Regions from separate parts of the Homo sapiens genome. Here region 2 is linked to region 1. The links are contacts of gene promoters, found by promoter capture Hi-C in human tissues and cell types (Jung and others, 2019). All regions are on one chromosome and are shown on one strand. The core of a region is centred on a gene start or on the middle of the fragment in contact, and the rest is flanking DNA. Distances in the headings are between cores, read along the strand shown. Region 1 holds the start of PLAUR (plasminogen activator, urokinase receptor). Region 2 overlaps CXCL17 (C-X-C motif chemokine ligand 17).

Region 1 (6,372 bases), core at 3,674-6,173:
GCCAAGGCGGGAGGATCACTCGAACCCAGCAGTTCAAGACCAGCCTGGGGAACAGACCAAGGCTCCATCTCTACAAAAAACACGAAATATGAGAAAATAGCCAGGCATGGTGGTGCACACCCCTAGGTCCCAACTACTCAGGAGGCTGAAGTGGGAGTTTCGCTTGAGCCCAGGAGTTCAAGGCAGCAGTGAGCTATGATCATGCCTCTGTCTCAAAAAAAAAAAAAAAAAAAAAAAAAGGGAAATTGGGAAATTGTGGCTTAGAGAAGTGAGGTCATCCCACCAGGAAGTGGTAGCAGCACAGCACACAGCTCCGCATGACCCTCAAACCTGAGTTTTCTCTTCACTGAGAGATGCCCCCTACCCACCCCAGACCCATTTCATAGGTGGCAAAGCCGGGGATTGATGGAGTGAAGCCATCTGCCCAGGGTCACCCAGAAGCAAGTGGCTGAGCTGGGTCTCAAGCCTGCTTGGACCAACACCCCAACTGTCTATTTCCCCACCTCATGTACATTCCGATCTAGTTTAGTTTTCACACCAGCCCAAGAGGGATCCCCTTCTCCAGCTGAGAAAACTGAGGCTCAGAAAGAAGAATGTCATTGGCCCAGGGTGACCCAGCCAGGGAAGTGCCCACTTCAGCAGCTGACGCGTGATAACTGTTGACGTCAGACTCAATGACAGGCCTCCATCTCCCTTCCTACTCCAGGAAGAGGTGAATGTCCAGAGTTGCAACAATGATAATACTGGCAGCTATCGCTTTTATTGAGCACATACTATGTACCAGGCACTGTGGCAAGCATCTTAGGAGCATTCTTCTTTTTGTTTGTTTGTTTGTTTGTTTTAGATGGAGTCTAGCTCTGTCGCACAGGCTGGAGTGGAGTGGTGCGATCTCGGCTCACTGCAATCTCTGCCTCCCAGGTTCAAGCAATTCTCGTGCCTCAGCCTCCTGCGTAGCTGGGACTACAGGTGCATGCCACCACACCTAGCTAATTTTTTTGTATTTTTTAGTAGAGACAGGGTTTTGCCATGGTGGCCAGGCTGGTCTTGAACTCCTGACCTCAAGTGATCCACCTGCCTTGGTCTCCCAAAGCACTGGTATTATAGACATGAGCCACCATGCTCAGTCATTTTAGGTGGATTCTTTTACCTCCGCAGTACACCAGCCCTGGGAGGGTGATACTTGCTATCTCTACTTTCCAGATAAGGGGCTTGGGCACAGAGATAGATTAAGTAACCTGCTAGAGGTGACACAGCCAATATGTAGATGCAATTTAGATTTTCACAATCTGAGACCAGCTCCCACACTCTTAACCATTGGGCTATACTACCTCTTAGGAAATTCTCTGGGAGTTCTTTTTTTTTTTTTTTTCAGTCTCACTTTTGTTGCCCAGGCTCGAGTTCAGTAGCTCGATTTTGGCTCACTGCAGCCTCAAACCCCTGGGGCTCAAGTGATCCTCCCACCTCAACCAGAGAGTAGCTGAGACCACAAGTGTGCACCACGACACCTGGCTAATTTTTCTATTTTTCATAGAGACAAGGTCTCGCTATGTTGTCCAGGCTGTAATTTTATTTTTTTATAGATACAAGGTCTTACTATGTTGCCCAGGGTGGTCTCGAACCCCTGAGCTCAAGCAATCCTCCAGCCTTCGCCTCCCAAAGTGCTGAGATTATAGGCATGAACCACTGTGCTCACCATTGGGAGTTTTTTTGTTTTTTGTTTTCTAACCTTATCTTAAAATCATTAGCTTACAGCTTCAATGAGTTAGTAAGAATCACATAGTACAGGCTGGAAGCGGTAGCTCATGTCTGTAATTTCAGCAATTTGGGAGGCCAAGGTGGGTGGATCACCTGTAGTCAGGAGTTAGAGACCAGCCTGGCAGACATGGTGAAACCCCATCTCTACTAACAATACAAAAATTAGGGCCGGGTGCGGTGGCTCACCCCTGTAATCCCAGCACTTTGGGAGGCTGAGGCAGGTTGATCATCTGAAGTCAGGAGTTCGAGACCAGCCTAGCCGACATGGCGAAACCCCATCTCTACTAAGAATACAAAAATTAGGGCTGGGCGCAGTGGTTCAAGCCTGTAATCCCAGCATTTTGGGAGGCTGAGGCGGGTGGATCACCTGAAGTCAGGAGTTCAAGACCAGTCTGGCCAGCATGGTGAAACCCCATCTCTACTAAAAATGCAAAAAATTCGCCAGGCATGGTGGAGAATGCCTGTAATCTCAGCTACTCAGGAGGCTGAGGCAGGAGAACCTCTTGAACCTGGGAGGCAGAAGTTGCAGTGAGCCGAGACCGTGCCATTGCACTCCAGCCTGGGTAACAAGAAAGAAACTCCGACTCAAAAAAAAAAAAAAAATAGCCAGGCATGCATGAGAATCCCTTGAACCTGGGAGGTGGAAGTTGCAGTGAGCCGAGACCACGCCATTGCATCCAGCCTGGGAGACAAAGTGAGACTCTGTCTCAAAAACAACAACAACAACGACAACAAATCACATAGTATAATCATTATTACAGCAGTAGAAGTAGCTACCACTTACTCATCCCCTACGACTCTCTTCCTCTCCTAATCTGTTCCAGCCACACTGACATCTCTTCTGTTCCTAGAATCTCATCAGGCTTCCACCTCAAGGCCTTTGCACTGGTTGTTCCTGCTCCTTGGAAAGGTTCCCTGCCCATCTGCCCTACTTCTTCCCTCACTGCATTCAGCCTCTGCTTGAATGCCACTTGCTCAGGGAACCCCTCCTGGATCACCCACCTAAAACAGCTCACACCTCATTTGCACCCAGATACTTCCTTCAGCCTGCTTTGTTTTCTCCAGTTTGCTTATCCCTCTCAGACAGTGAAAGATTAGATAACACATATCTGCTCCCCACTGTCAACACAACAAAAGGTGGGAACTTTGCTTTGCGTCCTGCTGTGCCCCTAGCTCCTGGACCAGTGCCCAGCACAAAGTAGGTCCTTGGTAGATGTTAAAGGAATGTGTTGAGCCCTCCATTTCGGCCAGCAGCTATTCCAGGCATTGCACCTACATTAAATTGCTCTGTTTAGTTAGATGCATCCTAAGACGGGGAGACAATTTTATCTTTAGTATTTTATTTTACTTAAAAAAAAAAAAAACTTGGCCAGGTGCAGTGGCTCATGCCTGTAATCCCAGCACTTTGGAAGGACAAGGCAGGTGGATCACCTGAGGTCAGGAGTTCGAGACCACCCTGACCAACATGGTGAAACCCCATCTCTACTAAAAATACAAAAATTAGCCGGGTGTGCTGGCGTGCCCCTGTAATCCCAGTTACTCAGGAGGCTGAGGCAGGAGAATTGCATGAACCCAGGAGGCGGAGATTGCAGTGGCCGAGATTGCACCACTGCACTCTAGCCTGGGTGACAGAGTGAGACTTCGTCTCAATAAATAAATAAATAAATAATAAAAAGAAAGAAAAAACTTATTATAAGCCTTTTCAAACCCACAGAAAAGGAGACAGAATGGCATAATATGCCCTTATATACTGATTACCTTTATATAATTGATACAACCATTTGGCTATTTTGCCTTTATTTTCTACTCAAGTATTTATTTATTTATTATTTTTTTGAGACAGGGTCTCGCTCTGTTGCCCAGGTTGGAGTGCAGTGGTGCAATCATAGCTCACTGCAGCTTCCAGTTCCCAGGTTCAAGCGGTCCTCCCACCTTAGCCTCCCAACTACCTAGGACTACAAGTACGGGCCACTGCACCCAGCTAATTTTATTTTATTTTTAATTTCTTTTGGAAAGATGAGGGCTCTTTATGTTTCCCAAGCTGATCTTGAACTCCTGGCCCCAAGTGATCCTCCTGCCTTGGCTTCCCAAAGCATTGGTGTTACAGGCATGAGCCACCTCATCTGACCTCTTCTAAAATATTATAAAATAAATACAGACATCAAAATGAAAACAAAAGAAAAAGAAAAAACAAAACAAAAATCCCCAAAACAACAACAACAAAAAATGCAGACATCAATAACATTCACCACTAAATACTCTAGTAAGCATCTGCAAAAACAAACAAACAAACAAAAACCAGAATCCCACCTAAGCATACAGCCATTGTCGTAACAGTGATATCTACTTTTTTGGCTGAAGTGTCTTTTTTTTTTTTTTTTTTTTTTTCTGTGAGAAGGAGTCTTGTTCTGTTGCCAGGCTGGAGTGCAGTGGCACGATCTCGGCTCACTGCAACCCAACCTCCGCCTCCCGGGTTCAAGCGATTCTCCTGCCTCAGCCTCCTAAGTAACACACACACGCCACTACGCCCGGCTAATTTTTGTATTTTTAGTAGAGACGGGGTTTCACCATTAAGTGTTTTAATGTAGGTGCAATGCCTGGAATAGCTGCTGGCCAAAATGGAGGGCTCAACACATTCCTTTAACATTTACCAAGGACCTACTTCGTGCTGGGCACTGGTCCAGGAGCTGGGGGCACAGCGGGAAGCAAAGCAAGGGTTAAGTGTTTTAAGTGTTTAAGAGATGCATATTTCAGGATGCATCTCTAGATAAGGACATTTTCCAAAATACCAGTATCCCTCCTGACAAAACTAACAAAAATCCTGTTAGCCAAATAATCAGCCACATTCATATTTACCGTCAAAGTTTTTATCCTCATTTTACAGCAGTGGAGAGCGATTGCCCCGGGTCCCACGTTAGGAAGAGAGAGAACTGGGATTTGCACCCAGGCAATCTGGGGACAGAGCTGTGATCACAACTCCATGAGTCAGGGCCGAGCCAGCCCCTTCACCACCAGCCGGCCGCGCCCCGGGAAGGGAAGTTTGTGGCGGAGGAGGTTCGTACGGGAGGAGGGGGAGGCGCCCACGCATCTGGGGCTGACTCGCTCTTTCGCAAAACGTCTGGGAGGAGTCCCTGGGGCCACAAAACTGCCTCCTTCCTGAGGCCAGAAGGAGAGAAGACGTGCAGGGACCCCGCGCACAGGAGCTGCCCTCGCGACATGGGTCACCCGCCGCTGCTGCCGCTGCTGCTGCTGCTCCACACCTGCGTCCCAGGTAGGGGCTGGGTCCCGAACGCCTGCGCCTGGAACAGGGTCTAATTGAGGGGGTTGGGGGTTGTCAGAGGATGAGTTGGAGGAATGCGGTTCAGTCCTCAGCATCCTCCCTAATCAAATAATAGTAATTCTCGTGCTTTGTGCAACGCCACGCGGCGCAGTACCTGGCACTCAGTAGCTAAGGAAATATTAGTGGAGCAAAGGCATTTAGCTTTACATAATTTAGTGAGTGCTTTTTTTTTTTTTTTTTTTTTTTTGACAGAGTCTCACTCTGTCGCCCAGGCTGGAGTGCAGTGGCGCGATCTCGGCTCACTGCAACCTCTGCCGCCCGGGTTCAAGCGATTCTCCTGCCTCAGCCTCCTGGGTAGCTGGGATTACAGGCGCCTGCCATCGCGCCCGGCTAATTTCTGTATTTTTAGTGGAGACCGGGTTTCACTCTGTTAGCCAGGATGGTCTCAATCTCCTGACCTCAGATGATCCACCTGCCTCGGCCTCCCAAACTGCTGGGATTACAGGCGTGAGCCACCGCGCCCGGCCCAAGTGTTCTTTTTTTAAATGGAGTTCTTCGAAGCCTCTTCCTTGCAATTTCAAACTAGGCGATGGGACTTTATTAATTTCGTTTCGCAGAGGAAACTAGGGCACAGAGAGGTTAGATAACTGGCCTAAAATCACACAGCCAGTGCTTGAATACGCAGGATCTGACCCTGCAGCGCCCCCCAGCGCTCTCCACGCTGCTGGGTCTCCCCCTCTGAGAAACGGGGGGACAGGACCCCCTTTTACAAAAGGCCCAAAGGGAGGCTGACTGAGCGGCGCAGAGCCAGTGCTGGAGACCCGGGACTGTCCCTCAGGACCTTTCCCTCTCACTGAGGCGACTCTCACTTACTTCCCCGGAAAATGTGGGGGGCTCTGGGTCGAGGAATTCGAGAAGGAACTGAGTCAGGGCGGGTGGCCACAGGGTGTTGGGGCCGCGATGAATAACCCGGAAAGCGCTCGAGACCGCGGGAGGCCGGGAATGAGTAACAGCTCCGGGATACTCCGAACGCGCAGCTGGAAAGGGATGTCCGGGAAGGCCCGGAGGTCGGGGACCGGGCCTAGGGACTGGGCTGCAATCTCGGGGCGGAGCCTGGGGCGGGGAGAGAGTGTCGGGGAGGAGCCAGAGGGCGGGGCTGGAACCTCAAGGAAGAGCTACGGGAGAGGTTACAGACCGAGGAAGAGCTAGGAGCGGGGCTAGAACCTCGAGGCGGAGCCAGAGGGCGGGGTTATAACCTCGAGGCGTAACCAGAGGGCGGAGTTATAACCTCGGGAGGAGCTAGAAGGTGGGACTAGACTCTTGAGGGGCAGGATTAT
Region 2 (7,007 bases), core at 2,076-4,575, 1.2 Mb after region 1:
AAAACAGTTACAAGAACAAAGAAATTTACCAACATCTAAAAAATAAAACTTTCTAAATATTCAGCAATGGGAAAGCAGTTAAATAATTTGGAACACATAATTATTGAGAGTATTATGCATTCATTAAAAATGTGTTATGAAGATGACACAGCAACATGCCTATGAATGGAAAAAGAGAATGTGTTTACATGCTATGGTTATCACTATATTAATAAAAAGCATATGTAGGTAACAAATATGCCAAAATACCAACAGTTGGTAAGAATAATAATTTCTCTGTTTGTACTTTCAAAATTTTCTCCAACAGTTAAATTACATTTAGACTGAAAAAAAAAAAAACTTCAGAATTAAGGAATTCAATTAAATAATCTCTGGGATTTCCTTCAAGGTCTAATATTCTGTGGTTTTTCTCTGGAACTAGGAGTAGAGGTCAGGCAAGAGTAAAAATGTTAGAAAAGTTTAAATGGCAGGACCTATGCCTGCTTAAATTACTTTGATAACACTCAAAACAGCACATGAGAACATTGGAAAAGCAGCCCTTGGGGAAATGACGCAACCCCCTCCATCTGTGTGGCAGAAGTCTGGGAAGTAGGAGGCCTGAATTGAACCATATGATCTCTAAGGGTCCTCTCCAAACAACTTATCCATCCACGTGTTGAACAAACATTTGCCAAATGCCTACCATGTGTTAGGAACCACGTACCTGAATGACTACTGAACCAATGGTTCAGAGTCTAGTGAAGGAGAAATATTTTATTTTAGTTTGCTAGGAATGCCATAACACAATACCACAGACTGGGTGGCATAAACAAGAGAAATTTATTCCTCACAGTTCTGCAGGCTGGATATATGAAATCAGGGTGCCAGCACAGCTGGGTTCTGGCAAGGGTCCTCTTCCAGGTTGCAGACAGTGGACTTCTCCTCTTATCTTCAAGAGGTGGAAAGAGAATGAAAGAGCTCTCTAGGATCCCCCCTACTTTTTTTTTTTTTTTTTAGACAAAGTCTTGCTTTGTTGCCCATGCTGGAGTGCAATGGTATGATCTCAGCTCACTGCAACCTTTGCCTCCCGGGTTCAAGCAATTCTCCTGCCTCAGCCTTCCAAGTAGCTGGGACTACAGGCACGCGCCACCATGCCCTGCTCATTTTTGTATTTTTAGTAAAGACAGGGTTTCACTATGTTGGCCAGGCTGGTCTCAAACTCCTGACCTGTGATTCACCCACCTCGGCCTCCCAAATTGCTGAGATTATAGGCATGAGCCACCGCGCCCAGCCCAAATCTCCTTTTCTTATAAGGACACCAGGCAGACTGGTGTAGGGCCCACCATAACAGCCTGATTTTAATCACCTCTTTAAAGGTCCTATCTCCATATACAGTCATTCTGAGGTACTGGGGGTTATGGATTCAACATGTGAATTTCGGGAGACACAATTCAGTCCATAAAAGATTTCAAACAACAACATTACAGTGCAATAACAGAACTGCATTCAACAACAATGGGAACCATATGAAGGTATAATTCATGTTGACAGGAAATATCAGAAACTACCATAAAGGAAGTGTCATCTGAGCCAAGCTCTTACTTGAGAATCTCAAGTCTATAAACCATCATTCTTGATTGTCTTAGGAATTTTTTTTTTTTTTTTGAGACCGTGTCTCGCTCTGTCGCCCAGGATGGAGTACAATGGTACGATCTCAGCTCACTGCAACTTCCGCCTCCTGGGGTCAAGAGATTCTCCTGCCTCAGCCTCCCGAGTAGCTGGGACTACAGGCGCCCGCCACCACGCCCGCCTAATTTTTTGTATTTTTAGTAGAGACGGGGTTTCACCATGTTAGCCAGGATGGTCTTGACCTCCTGACCTCATGATCCGCCTGCCTCAGCCTCCCAAAGTGCTGGGATTCCAGGCATGAGCCACCGTGCCCAGCCTGTCATAGGAATATTTTAAGTATCAAAAAATGGAGATAAGATAGAATCGGAAAATAAAACAGGCTCGGATAAAGGCCAAAAGAAGAATGTATTTGTTCCAGAGGAACAAAGGTAAATACCATCGTTTAATAGTTGAACTGGGACTCTGGATTCAAATACAGCTACTTGGGGTGGGTGTGGTGGCTCATGCCTATAATCACAGCACTTTGGGAGGCCAAGACAGGCGGATCGCTTACGCCCATGAGCTCCAGACCAACCTGGGCAACTTGGCAAAACCCTATCTTTACAAAAAATACAAAAAACTAGCCAGGAGTGGTGGTGCATGCCTGAAGCCTCAGCTACCCAGGAGGCTGAGATGGGAGGACCAACCAAACCCAGGAGGTCAAGGCTGCAGTGAGCCGTGATTGCACCACTACACTCCAGCCTGGATGACAGAGTGAGACTCTGTCTCAAAAAACAAACAAACAAACAAAAAACCCAGCAACTTGGAGGTCAAGGGAAAATCTTGATTTAAGGAATAATCTCCTCCTCGCTCTCACTCTTTTAAGTCATGAGGATTTTAATGTGAGGTATGAGGAGAGGGCAGGAGGTTTCGACAAACCCCTGCCTTTTATCATCTCTTCCATCTAGAAGCCATTCTTTCTCCACCTACCTTCAGCTAAGCTTTTCTCTAGGCCAGATTTTTTTAATCATTAAATTTTTGAATATGCTTATGTATAGGCCAGATTTTAAACCTCAATCCCTTATCGATTAAAATACCCCTCAGCTGGGCACAGTGGCTCACGCCTATAATCCTAGCACTTTGGGAGGCCAAGGCAGGAGGACCACTGGAGCCCAAGAGTTCAAGACCAGCCTAGGCAACACAGCAAGACCCCATCTCAAAAATATAAATAAAAATAAAATATTCATCTCTTGAAGTAACCTAGATTCTTGAAGTAAAAATGGAAAAATGGAACTGTGCTGACCTAGGTAGAACAATGCTGGGAGGATCATTTCTGTGCCCTTTCCAGTGTCTGGATGTGACCTGTTTCCTTCCGACAGGGGTCGCCAGAGGCCACAGGGACCGAGGCCAGGCTTCTAGGAGATGGCTCCAGGAAGGCGGCCAAGAATGTGAGTGCAAAGGTCAGTAATTCAGCAACAACAACAGCGATGGCATCACCATGACCCCAGCTCTCTCCCTTGGGCCCCTCTGAGACCAATGCAGATGTTATCTCAGCTGACCTCACCCATTCCCCTCTCCACAGCCTGCCACATGCAGCACCTGTGCCCACTTTCTTCCTGACTCTCAGGCAAGAACTGGACTTCTCCAAGGTCTAGGGGAAAGCCAGCCAAATGTCAGGCTGCGCCCTGCCCCTTATCCTTTTCCTGAAGAACCCAGAGCTACCGTCCAAAAGCCTTTTTATTTTTTCCTGGCCTTCCAAAAGCTTCCTGAATCCTATTCTCAGCCTTATTTTACTCACAGGCAAGACTGAAAGCAGAGAGGCAAAATGGCTTCCCCAAGGGAAAGTAGCCACTGAAAAGCAGACACCCAAGCCTTACTCCTCATTCTTTGGAGTAATGATATTCTGATGCACCCTCCAAACCTGCCACCAAACCCTTGCCCAAACCCTTGCCCAAACCTTGCCCAAAGTTGTCAGGAAAAACAACTCAGAAATACTGGCATTCAAATAGCTGGATGGACACTGTTCTCTGTTGACCCCTTTTCCCACCCCATTGCAGTGGAAATGCAAGGCACAGAAGATGGCGATTAAAGCTCTGTCCTACTCCCTCCTATCAAATGTATTAACTCTCCCATCTAAGCAGCAATGCTGTTGTTCCAGATTGGTTCCTGAGAGCCCCGAGAAGAAAATTCATGACAGTGTCTGGGCTGCCAAAGAAGCAGTGCCCCTGTGATCATTTCAAGGGCAATGTGAAGAAAACAAGTAAGTTTCCAAAGGATGATTTTCCTTATACCAGAGTCACTCCGTGAAATCACTAGGGAAGAAGCACGTTGAGAATAGAAAAAAGAGGTGAAATTAAGACCAGGATAAGCACACAACTCAGCCCTTTCTACTCAATGTCACCTTGTCGGGAAATAGGAAGAGAGGAAAAGCAGGATACAATTTTCCTGATACTGGAAAGGTTTAACCAAATTCTTAGATTTTAAAACCTCACTGTTTACCAAAGTGGGGGTAGATGGGGCTGTTGGAGATCTGGTCATTAATCTCTGAAGATTACACCAGTGTCAGCATCAAACAGAATTTGACTCCTCCCTAGTCTAGCAGTTTTGTGTTTGTTATTTTGTTCTGTTTTTTGAGTAGGGGGTCTTGCCATGTTGCCCAGGTTGGTCTCAAACTCCTGGGCTCAAGTGATCCTTCCACCACAGCCTCCCAAGGATCTGGGGTTAGAGGTACACACCACCACACCCAGTTTAGTCTACCAGTTTTTAAGTGTCATATAAAAAGTAAATTGGCAGCCGGGCACAGTGGCTCATGCCTGTAATCCCAGTACTTTGGGAGGCCGAGGCAGGCGGATTGCTTGAGGCCAGGAGTTCAAGACCAGCCTGGCCAACATGGTGAAACCCCGTCTCTACTAAAAATACAAAAATTAGCGGGGCATAGTGGTGCATGCCTGTAATCCCAGCTACTCGGGAGGTTGAGGCACGCGAATTGCTTTAATCCGGGAGGTGGAGGTTGCAGAGAGTTGAGATCATGCCACTGCACTCCAGCCTGGGCGACAGAGTGAGACTCTGCCTCAAAAAAAAAAAAAAAAAAAAACTAAATTGGCAAATGTTAAACTGATTGATATTATGATATTATCAAGAATGGGATATATCAGGATCCTTATACACTATTGACGGAAGTAAAATAAATTTGGCTGTATCAAAATTGTAAATGAGTATAATAACTTTAGTAATCTTACTTTAGGAAATCTCAACAATGGAATACTAGCATGGATGCTCAAAATATAGGTACAAGAATATTAATTATAGCAGTATTTGTATTGACAAATAAATGGGGGAAATTTTCTTCAAAGGCAAATTGGGAAAAACTAATTACTGTCAAAAATAATTAAGTAAACCAGGGGCAGTGGCTCAGGCCTATAATCCTAGCTACTCAGGAGGCTGAGGCAGGAGGATCCAGTAAGCCAAGGAGCTCAAGACCAGCCTGGGCAACATAGCAAGATCCTGTCTCTAAAATAAATATAATAATAACAATAATAATAAAAATAATAATAATAATAATGAGATAAATCATTATGTGTTGGCTGGAGAGATATCCACAATATATTAATGAAAAAAAAATGATGTAGAGACCCCCTATTTCACATCCTTCATTAACGTAAGTTTCAGGTGGATTACAGATCTAAATTTGAAAGACAAATTTACAAGGAAATACAGGAGAATATATTCACAACCTTGAGGTATGAAAGCCTTTCTTAAACAAAATACAAAATGCACAAACCATAAAGTAAAAGAGTAAATAAATCTGACTTCACTGAGATTATGAAATTTTGATCATCAAAAGAATAAAATGACAAGCTGCCAAATAGGAGACGATATCTGTAACATACACAACCTTCAAAGGATTAGTATTCAGAATACATATATAAGGAATTGCTACAGACCAGTGAGAGGAGGGCAGGAAATACAACAGACAAACGGGCAAAAATACTTGAATAGCCACTTCACAGATGATGAAACCCAAACAGCTAATAAACAGATGCAATGGCACTCAACCTTATTATTACAAGGAAAATGTGAATTAAAACTAAAGTGAGGCCAGGTGCAGTGGTTCATGCCTGTAATCCCAGCACTTTGGGAGGCCAAGGCAGGGGGATCACCTGAGGTCAGGAGTTCGAGACCAGCCTGGCCAACATGGTGAAACCCCGTCTCTACTTAAAATACAAAAAAATTAGCCGGGCGTGATGGTGCACATCTGTAATCCCAGCTACTTAGGAGGCTGAGACAGGAGAATTATTTGAACCCGGGAGGCAGAGGTTGCAGTGAGCCAAGATCACGCCACTGCACTCCAGCCTGGACAACAGAGTGAGACTCCATCTCAAAAACAAAAACAAAAAAAATGGGGAGAGACATAAACATTCAGACCATAATATATACATAAAGTTTAAAAATGAGAAAAAATAAACTAAATTATTTAGGAATCTATACACATAGGTGGTAAATAATAAAGAAAAGAAAGTAAATAATTACTATAAAAGTCAAGATTATCACTGTGAGGGGGAGAGAAAGCAGTGATCAGAAAAGGAGGGGTGCTGTTGGCAATATTCTATTTCTTTCTTTCTTTCTTTTTTTTTTTTTTTTGAGATGGAGTTCTGCTCTTGTTGCCCAGGCTGGAGTGCAATAGCGCAATCTCGGCTCACTGCAACCTCCGCCTCCCGGGTTGAAGCAATTCTCCTGCCTCAGCCTCCTGAGGAGCTGGGATTACAGGGATGCGCCACCACACCCAGCTAATTTTGTATTTTTAGTAGAGATGGATTTCTCCATGTTGGTCAGGCTGGTCTCGAACCCCTGACCTCAGGTGATCTGCCTGCCTCGGGCTCCCAAAGTGCAGGGATTACAGGCATGAGCCACCGTGCCCGGACACAATATTCTATTTCTAAGCCTAGGTAGTAGTTTCATGAATATCTGCTTTATAACTATTTATTGAATTGCATGTATAGGTTTCTATGAACTTCTATAGATATATAATACTTTGCAATAATAGATTCAGTTGTTTTTTTTGCAGAGGGAGGGGCGCAGTTGAGACAAGGTCTTGCTCTGTCACCCAGGCTGGAGTGCAGTGGCATGATCACGGCTCACCTCCTGGGCTGAAACATTCCTCCTGCCTCAGCCTCCCCAGCAACTGGAACCACAGGTACACGCCACCATGCCTGGCTAATTTTTGTATTTTTGTAGAGATAGGATTTCGCCATGTTGCTCAGGCTGGTCTTTAACTCCTGGGCTCAGGCAATCTGCCCACCTCGGCCTCCCAAAGTGCTGAGATTATAGGCACAAGCCACTATGCCCGGCCAGATTTCTTAAAGGTGCCGACTAAGGCAATACGTATAGTATAATCTCATTTTTGTTTTTAAAATAAACCA

What was found. Contacts are between HindIII fragments. The study calls those that stand out against the background at their distance.
Region 2: a contact is called between a fragment that was not itself captured here and the fragment with the promoter of PLAUR in region 1, in 2 of the 25 tissues and cell types used here (dorsolateral prefrontal cortex and hippocampus).

The regions. Positions count from the first base shown.
Region 1 is chr19:43,668,720-43,675,091 of GRCh38, reverse strand. It overlaps PLAUR (plasminogen activator, urokinase receptor), which reads left to right and starts at 4,923. Exons shown (of 7, transcript NM_002659.4): 1 at 4,923-5,026. The coding sequence starts at 4,972. LOC124904724 (a long non-coding RNA gene) reads right to left here and starts at 6,328. Exons shown (of 3, transcript XR_007067264.1): 1 at 5,909-6,328; 2 at 4,612-5,066. RefSeq lists an enhancer at 4,855-5,154 and silencers at 6,075-6,154, 6,195-6,372. The HindIII fragment of the contact is 20,050 bases long and covers 1-6,372 here.
Region 2 is chr19:42,429,816-42,436,822 of GRCh38, reverse strand. It overlaps CXCL17 (C-X-C motif chemokine ligand 17), which reads left to right. Exons shown (of 4, transcript NM_198477.3): 2 at 2,967-3,047; 3 at 3,746-3,847. The region is part of intron 1 of LIPE-AS1 (LIPE antisense RNA 1); the gene reads right to left. Among named protein-coding and RNA genes, the nearest start is that of LIPE, 5.9 kb to the right of the region's middle. The HindIII fragment of the contact is 4,621 bases long and covers 1,015-5,635 here.